Linked DNA regions of Homo sapiens: regions 2 and 3 are each linked to region 1. The links are contacts of gene promoters, found by promoter capture Hi-C in blood cells and fetal thymus (Javierre and others, 2016). All regions are on one chromosome and are shown on one strand. Each heading gives the region's core, a stretch centred on a gene start or on the middle of the fragment in contact. The rest is flanking DNA. Distances are from core to core; before and after follow the strand shown.

Region 1 (2,700 bases), core at 162-2,661:
CAACATCATTCACGATAAAAACATCTTTTTTTTTTTTTCTGCGACATAGTCACTCACCCTCCACCTTCTTTCGGTAAATCCTCCATAAAACTACATAAGGAGAAATATCCCTTTGTTTTACATCCTCTGACTCAGATACTGAGCATTATTCCTTGGGGTCAGCGGTGGAGGTGGAGGTGGAGGTGGAGGGGAGGAAAGATCCCCTCGGGGATGCGGGGAAGAGGAGAGTATATTGTGGAGGGGCACGGCGTTTTGCTCTTTTTTTGTTTTTTTCCTTAAGATGGTCCTGGCTCACAGAAAGGCCACTACCCGGCAGGCGGGTGGGTCACTTCCTGTGGGCGCAGCGGGGCTACGACTTGACAGCTACAAACGTTCGACCCTCCGACTGCGCTCTCACCGGGTTCCCAGACCCAGGTGGTGGTAGTCGGGGGTGGGAGTGGCGGGAAGGGCGCCGTCTTAAGAACCATCTGCCCATCCTCAGGGCTTCGCGCCTCTGGGGAGGTGGCCCTCAGCCGCCCTCGGCAGAGCTCTCCCCGAAACATGGTGCCGCGTCTCAGCGCTCCGGCCCCCGCGTGGCTCTACGACAGCGGGGTCCCTCTGGGGGCCGCGGGTGAGGGACTCCACCTTCCGCACGGACGACGTGGGCTCGCCCGGCTCCGTCGGCGGCATGAAGGGCACGGCTTGAGGGAAGCTCCCGAGGGCGCGATGGGCCTCCCGAGGGCCGACCGTGCCCCGCCGGGGTACGTGAGGGGCGCAAGGCGTGGAGCTGGGTCCAGACCCGTCCTGGCTCCTCCCCGGGCCCCTTCTCCACAGCCCCTTTCTATCAGCCCTGGCCGCCCCTCCGGCCTGGCCCAGCGCCGCGCCCTCCTTCCCCGAACTCCGCGGCCCGGGCGGAGGTGTCACTCCCGCCTCCAGTCACGACGGCGGGCCAGGTTGTGCAACACGCGCCGCGCGATGTGCCACCCACCCCCCCCGTATTCCACACCGCAACTCCCACCGCTCCGAGGGTCCTCCCCAGGCGCCGCGATATCTGTGCCCAAGGCTCTGAGCCCCTCTAAGCCCGCGGCGCGGACTTCCTGCCTCCCCAGCCCGGGCGCGTAGTCCCGACCGTCCGGCCCTCCGCGACCTTGCCCCGCGTCCGCAGCATCCTGGCGGCTACCGCTCCCCACGTCGAGTCTCACCGGCTGGGAGCAGACCAGCGCCCGGTGGTCCAGGAGTCGCAGGGAGGCGCCACCCGGGGCCAGCACGCCCAGGAGCAGCAGGAGCAGCCCCAGCAGGGGCCCCGGGACAGCGGACGGCGGGCTGCGTGCGGCCCCCATGGCCCGGCTGGCGTCGCGGAGGGCTCGGCCCCGGCTGGGGACGCAGCGAACGAACGTTCTGAGGCTTTCTTTTCCGCGGTGGAGTTCGAGTCGGCTCCACTTTGCTCGCTTCCGGCTTCCAGCCCGGGCCCAGGGGCGGGCCGGGCCGAGGGGAGGAGTTTAGTCTGGGACGGGGAGGGGTTTAGGGTGAGACAGGGCCCTCCCCCCGTTCCTCCTTGCGCCCCTCCTCTCGGCCCTACGCTCAGTCCTCCGGGCGTCCCTACCCAGTCCTTCCGGCGTCCCTCCCCGGCCCTCCTCCGCCCGCGCGCCCCAGGTGCGCTCCTCCCGCTGCTCCTGGGCCTGGCCCGTCGCGCCTCCAGTTGCACCCGCGTCGGGCTAGCGTCAACTCCAGCTGGAGCCTCGCCTGCCCCACATGCACCCTCCACCCTGGCCGTGCCGCAGCAACTGTCGATTTTAATCCTCCGCCCCCACTCACTTGATTCTTGGCCCTGTTCAGACTTCTTGCTTCTCTTGTGGGTCACTGGACGTGAAATCCCAACTTGGGATTTCAGGAAGTCCGTTTTCTTAGTCTCTGTCCCTTTTATTTTTGTTTTTTATTTTACTTTATTTTTAGACAGGGTCTCCCTCTGTCTCCCAGGCTGGAGTGCAGTGGTGCAACCGCAGCTCACTGCAGCTTCGGCCTCCCGGGCTCAAGCGATCCTCCTGCCTCTGCCTCCTGAGTAGATGGAAGCGCGGGCCATATCCCATTTTATTGTCCCCACCCCTTTGCCTGGTTCTGCTCGCTCTGCTTTCCTTGGCTTTGCTTTCTCTTTCTCAAGACAAGGACAGCTCCGGGCTCCAGGGAGGATGGGACAGCAGTCACTTCCAGCCTCCTGGCTCGGACTCGGGGACACTTGAGTTCCTGGAGGGCAGGCAACTTACCTGGTCTGTGAGACTGTGTCCCAGCCGCACCTAAGAGAGTCGTTACTTCCCAGAGGCTCACTCCACGGCCGCGGAAGCTGTCGCCAGCGAATTACACATTTCATGAGTCTCCTTCTTAGCACGCGTGCAGCCTGCGTCCTCTCCTCTCCGGACCCTGGAGGACCCTCCCAAGCCGGCCCGCGCTGCCTCTATCCTAGGTTCCTGCTTCGAGCCCGTCCTGCCCTAGTGCATCCACACGCTCCTGCCCATTCGCCTCTCCTCTCTTCCTCCCAAGACCACCACCGTCCGCTTTTCCTTGCCTATCAAGTGCGCCTCTGCCTGGCCTTGACACGCACGGAGTCTACACTCAAGTGGCTTTTCCCTGTATTTTCCACTGCCCTCGAGAGGTGGGTTTTTTCGCTGCCCGAAGCACCCGCTGACCCCCAGCGACATCTCTATGAGCCCCGCCCGCAGACACGAC
Region 2 (2,700 bases), core at 60-2,559, 380 kb before region 1:
CTCCCCAGTCTCAGTAAATGGCATATTTCTCCAGCAAAAAATTGAGGCATCCTTGACTCTTCCCTTTTTCTCTCTTTTCACATCTAGTCAATTAACAAATCCTGATGACTATATTCAAAAGAGATTCAGAAACCCCTCTCTTCTCACACCATCTCCATGGCCCATTTGTCTGAGCTTCATCCATTTAAAAGCTTCCTCACCAAACTCCCTGCTTCTCTCTGTCTGCTCCTCATATCAACAGCTAGTGAGCCTTCGAAACGTGAGTCAGAGCATTCCACCCCTTTGTACCAATGTCTCCTTTAGAACTAAATCCAAAGTTTATATGACCTCTAAGACCTCACCTGTCAGCCTCCTGCTGACACGCTAACATCGCTTCTCACTACTCTCATCCTTGATCACCTCCCTAACTCATACTGGCCTCTTACCTGCTCCTCAGATACACTCAGCACTCCCGGCTGGGGCATCTGCACTAGGTTCTGCCTGGAATAGCCTCTCCCTCACTTTCTATAGGTCCAGTCACTGTCTCGTCCCTCTACTCTGCTTTATTTTTCTAACTAACCTACCAGCTATTGATTATATGCATTTATTTTCTGTCTTCCACCATTATTAAGCAAACCCCTTGAGGAGCTTTGTCTGCTTTGGGTTTGTGGCTGTTTCCCCAAAATTGTATTTGCCCACAGTGAGTATTTAATAAATTTTTTTGAGACGGAGTCTCGATCTGTTGCCCAGGCTGGAGGGCAGTGACACGATCTTGGCTCACTGCAACCTCCACCTCCCAGGTTCAAGCAATTCTCTGCCTCGGCCTTCTGAGTAGATGGGATTACAGGTGCTCGCCACCACACCCAGCTGATTTTTGATTTTTAGTAGAGATGGGGTTTCACCATCTTGGCCAGGCTGGTCTTGAACTCCTGACCTCGTGATCCACCCGCCTCGGCCTCCCAAAGTGCTGGGATTACAGGCGTGAGCCACTGCAGCTGGCCTAGGACAGGCAGGTTTTGATGACCTAAACTTCTCACCGGGACTTCCAAACTGGTTCCCCATATCCAATACAGACTAAACCTCTGCCCAATTAAATTTGCTTAAATTCAATTCTGACAATATTGCTTTCGTGTAGAAGCCTCCAAAGACTCCTCGCAATTCATCAGATTAAGTCTGTATCCTGAACTTAACATTCAAAGCCTCCCCAAATGACCTCAACCTACACCTTCTCAGTATTATCTTAAGATCTTTATCTTTTTTTTTTATTATTATTTCAGATGGAGTCTCGCTCAGTTGCCCAGCCTGGAGTGCAGTGGCACGATCTTTGCTCACTGCAAGCTCTGCCTGGGACTACAGGCGCCCGCCACCATGCCCAGCTAATTTTCTGTATTTTTAGTAGAGACAGGGTTTCACCGTATTAGCCAGGATGGTCTCGATCTCCTGACCTCGTGATCCGCCTGCCTCGGCCTCCCAAAATGCTGGGATTACAGGTGTGAGCCACCGCGCCCGGTCAAGATCTTTATCTTTAAAAAAGTAACAGGTACTGCCGAGCATGGTGGCTCATGCCTGTAGTCCCAGCACTTTGGGAGGCCAAGGCGGGTGGACCACGAGGTCAGGAGTTCGAGATCAGCCTGACCAACATGGTGAAACCCTGTCTCTACTAAAAATAAAAAAATTAGCCGGGTTTGGTGGTGCGCACCTGTAGTCCCAGCTGCTGAGGAGTCTGAGGGAGGAGAATCACTTGAACCCTGGAGACGGAGGTTGCAGTGAGCCAAGGTTGTGCCATTGCACTCCAGCCTGGGCGACAGAGCGAGACTCCATTTCAAAAAAAAAAAAAAAAAAGTAACGGGTACTTCCCAGTCTTGACTCATGTTGTTTCTTCTGTTGTCATAGGCATGGTTTCTTCACTCCCACCCAATCCCATCGCAGAGGAAAAACATGGGAAACATCTGGAACGAAGACTGACTTCTGTGTATTCTGGTGCACAAAGGCTTGCCCATGAGAAGGGCTCACACACTTGGGCTCACTGGAGAATGCTAATTGCTTTTACCTGGATAAATTGGTCTACTGATAACGAAAGCCATCAAACTCCTCGCCAGGAGTTTCAGGAGAAAGTGCCTAGCAAATGATGGTAAATTCTAAATGAGTCCTAACCCCAACAGGAAGTACAGATGGGGTGGGAAATATAGGGAGTTTGTTGTATCTATTTTTCTGCCTGAGGCATCCACCATCTTTGAATACTTGAAAGAGAATGGGACTTGAAAAATACTGTCTCACAAACAGAATATTTAAAAGAGGATAAAGGAAATAACTTTCTTAAAAAAAATCACCATTGTTTTAGGAGACTGGTGGGAATCAAACTTAATATCAGTAAGTTGTGTATCAGCAGTTGCTTTGGATAAAAAAGAATAAACTCTGAACCAACAGAGAAAGAGAAGAGAAGCTTTCCTCATATCAGATTGACTAGGACCTACAATAAACAGAACGTCCCATTTCTACAAATAAGAGCTGCTACAGCTGCTGGCAGAGCAGCACGACCGGGGAAACCCATCGCGGTAATGGGTGATTCCCTGATGCTGCGAATTAGGGAAGCAACCACAGGATTGACAGGTCTACAAAGAGACACACAGCACCCCCAAACAGGTCTCCAGGATGGAACTAAAGGCCAGCTAAGACTAAGCCAAACTTGGTTAGTTTTTGTGGGGATGAAACACTGCTGCT
Region 3 (2,700 bases), core at 175-2,674, 440 kb before region 1:
TCATGTGCCGGGCGCGGCACCACTGCACTCCAGCCTGGGCGACAGAGCGACACTCCGTCTCAAAACAACAACAACAGCAGCAACAACAAAAGTATGGGTAATGTAACATTACAGGAGTTTTGAAAAAAAAAAAAAATTCAGGGAACTCCAAGATGAGTGACCATCAGCACTGTTGAGATGCTAGAATATAAATACCAGCATACGACAGAGGAACTATTTACAGGTAGATCTTCACATCATTATGAAATTTCTTCTCAGTCATTCCCAACACAAATATTACTCATTATGTTAAAAGGACCTGCAGAATAAAATCCGCTTAGAATGTCACACAAAGCTTGTTTCTCTGAATAAACTGTTGTAATTTTTAAAAGTGTCTGATTAGTACATAATTGATTATTTCTCTTTTTTTGTAGTTGGAAGCTACTAAAAAGTCTGGAAAAGGTTATTGTAAGTATCTTATGGCTTACAAAAATTCCTTCCATAAGAACTATCATGGGAGGCAGAGCGAGACTTTGTCTCAAACAAAGAAAACTATCATTTGTGACTTTAAATGTGTGTCAGAGACTGTCCTGTTTTCATTTAATCCTTCCTTTTTTTTTTTTTTTGAGACGGAATCTTGCTCTGTCGCCCAGGCTGGAGTGCGGTGGGGCGATCTCGGCTCACTGGAAGCTCCGCCTCCCGGGTTCACGCCATTCTCCCGCCTCAGCCTCCCGAGTAGCTGGGACTACAGGCATGTGCCACCACGCCTGGCTAATTTTTTGTATTTTTAGTAGAGACGGGGTTTCACCGTGTTAGTCACGATGGTCTTGATCTCCTGACCTCGTGATTCGCCCACTTCGGCCTTCCAAAGTGCTGGGATTACAACCGTGAGCCACGGCGCCCAGCCCATTTAACCCTTCTAACAAGGTCTGCACAGCCCATCCCAATGCGACCCTGGGCTACCTGGTAGGACTCAATTCATGCCCAGCCAGCCTTCCTGTGCTTGCTCTGCTCTGCTCCGCTCCAGCCGCGCCGGGACTTCCAGCCAGCCTTCCTGTGCTTGCTTTGCTCCCCTCCGCTGCAGCCTCGCCCTGGACTTCCTGCTGCATATCCCTGCCTCCGTGCCTCTGCTCTTGTCTGCACTGCGCCTTCCGCTTCAGGCACTCACGGGTCAACCTCATTCACTTTATTTAAATGTCAAATCTTCAGAGAGGGCTTTCTTTTTTGTCTGAGACAGGGTTTTGCTCTATCACCCAGGCTGTGTTCAGCAGGGGAAATCAGCGCTCACTGCAGCCTCGATCTCCTGCGCTCAAGGGGTCCTCCTGCCACAGCCTCCCAAGTAGCTGGGACCACAGATGGAGCCACCACGCCCAGCCATGTCACTCTTTACCTGTAAACCTGCCTAATTTTACTTCAGATCACTCACCACTATTATCCCACAATATTTGTCTACTCTCCACCTTCTCACCACTGGAATGAAAATAGTACTTCTGGCTGGGTGTGTGCTCACGCTTGTATTCCCAGCACTTTGGGAGGCTGAGGCAGATGGATCACTTGAGGCCAGGAGTTCAAGACCAGCCTGGCCAACACGGCAAAACCCCATCTCTACTAAAAATACAAAAATTAGCCGGGTGTGGTAGTGTACACCTGTAATCACAGCTACTTGGGAGGCTGAGGCATGGTAATCACTTGAACCTGAGAAGTGGAGGTTGCAGTGAGACCAGATCATGCCACTGCACTCTAGCCTGGGCAAAAGAGTGAGACTCTGTCTCAAAAATAACAAAAAAGAAAAGAAAAGAAAAAAAAAGCCATACTTCTCTGCTGTGCTATCAAATGCCAGATCATATTCATTCATAATAACTATTTTTTTTGTACCCATTAACCATCCTACCTCTCCCCAACCCTCCACTATCGTTCCCAGCCTCTGGTAACCATCCTTTTCCCCTCTATCTCCACGGGTTCAATTATTTTGATTTTTAGATCCCACAAGTAAGTGAGAATATCCAATGTTTGTCTTTCTGTGCCTGTCTTATTTCATTTAAAATAATAACCTCCAGTTCTATCCATGTTGTTGCAAACGACTGCATCTTTCTGTTTTTATGGCTGAATAGTACTCCCTTGTGTATCAGTACCACATTTTCTTTATCCATTCATTTGCTGACGGACACTTAGGTTGCTTCCAAATCTTGGCTATTGTGAACAGAGCTGCAAAAAATATGGGAGTGTAGTTATCTCTTCAATATATTGATTTCCTTTCTTTTGGGTGTATACCCAGCAGTGGGATTAATAGATTTTATGGTAGCTCTCTTTTTAGTTTTCTAAGGAACATCTAAGCTGTTCTCCATAGCGGGGGACTAATTTATGTTCCTACCAACAGTATATGAGGATTTCCTCTTCTCATTCTCACCAGTATTTGTTATTGCCTGTCCTTTGGGTATAAACCATTTTAACTGTGTAAGATGATATCTCATAATAGTTTTGGATTTCCATTTCTCTGATGATCAATGATACTGAGCACTTTTTTCATAAGCTTGTTTGCTTTTTTTTTTTTTTTTTGAGACAGAATCTTGCTGTATTGCCCAGGCTGGAATGAAGTCTTGGCTTGATCTCTGCTCACTGCCACCTCTGTCTCCCAGGTTCAAGCAATTCTCCTGCCTCAGCCTCCTGAGTAGCTGGGATTACAGGCGTGTGCCACCATGCCTAGCTAATTTTAGTATTTTT

The links. The method cuts DNA at HindIII sites, captures the fragments that hold promoters and counts their contacts. A CHiCAGO score of 5 or more calls a contact.
Region 2: a contact is called between a fragment that was not itself captured here and the fragment with the promoter of IL17RA in region 1, in 1 of 17 cell types (endothelial precursors). The highest score is 5.3, in endothelial precursors.
Region 3: a fragment that was not itself captured here is called in contact with the fragment with the promoter of IL17RA in region 1 in 1 of 17 cell types (M2 macrophages); the score reaches 5.5 in M2 macrophages.

What each region holds. Positions count from the first base shown.
Region 1 is chr22:17,083,711-17,086,410 of GRCh38, reverse strand. It overlaps IL17RA (interleukin 17 receptor A), which reads right to left and starts at 1,411. Exons shown (of 13, transcript NM_014339.7): 1 at 1,182-1,411. The coding sequence starts at 1,319. RefSeq lists silencers at 629-878, 919-1,018, 1,269-1,388, 1,409-1,628 and an enhancer at 2,182-2,351. The HindIII fragment of the contact is 13,521 bases long and covers 1-2,700 here.
Region 2 is chr22:17,460,914-17,463,613 of GRCh38, reverse strand. All of the region lies in intron 1 of CECR2 (CECR2 histone acetyl-lysine reader), which reads right to left. Among named protein-coding and RNA genes, the nearest start is that of CECR2, 93 kb to the right of the region's middle. The HindIII fragment of the contact is 2,231 bases long and covers 194-2,424 here.
Region 3 is chr22:17,527,605-17,530,304 of GRCh38, reverse strand. All of the region lies in intron 9 of CECR2 (CECR2 histone acetyl-lysine reader), which reads right to left. Among named protein-coding and RNA genes, the nearest start is that of SLC25A18, 35 kb to the left of the region's middle. The HindIII fragment of the contact is 2,175 bases long and covers 337-2,511 here.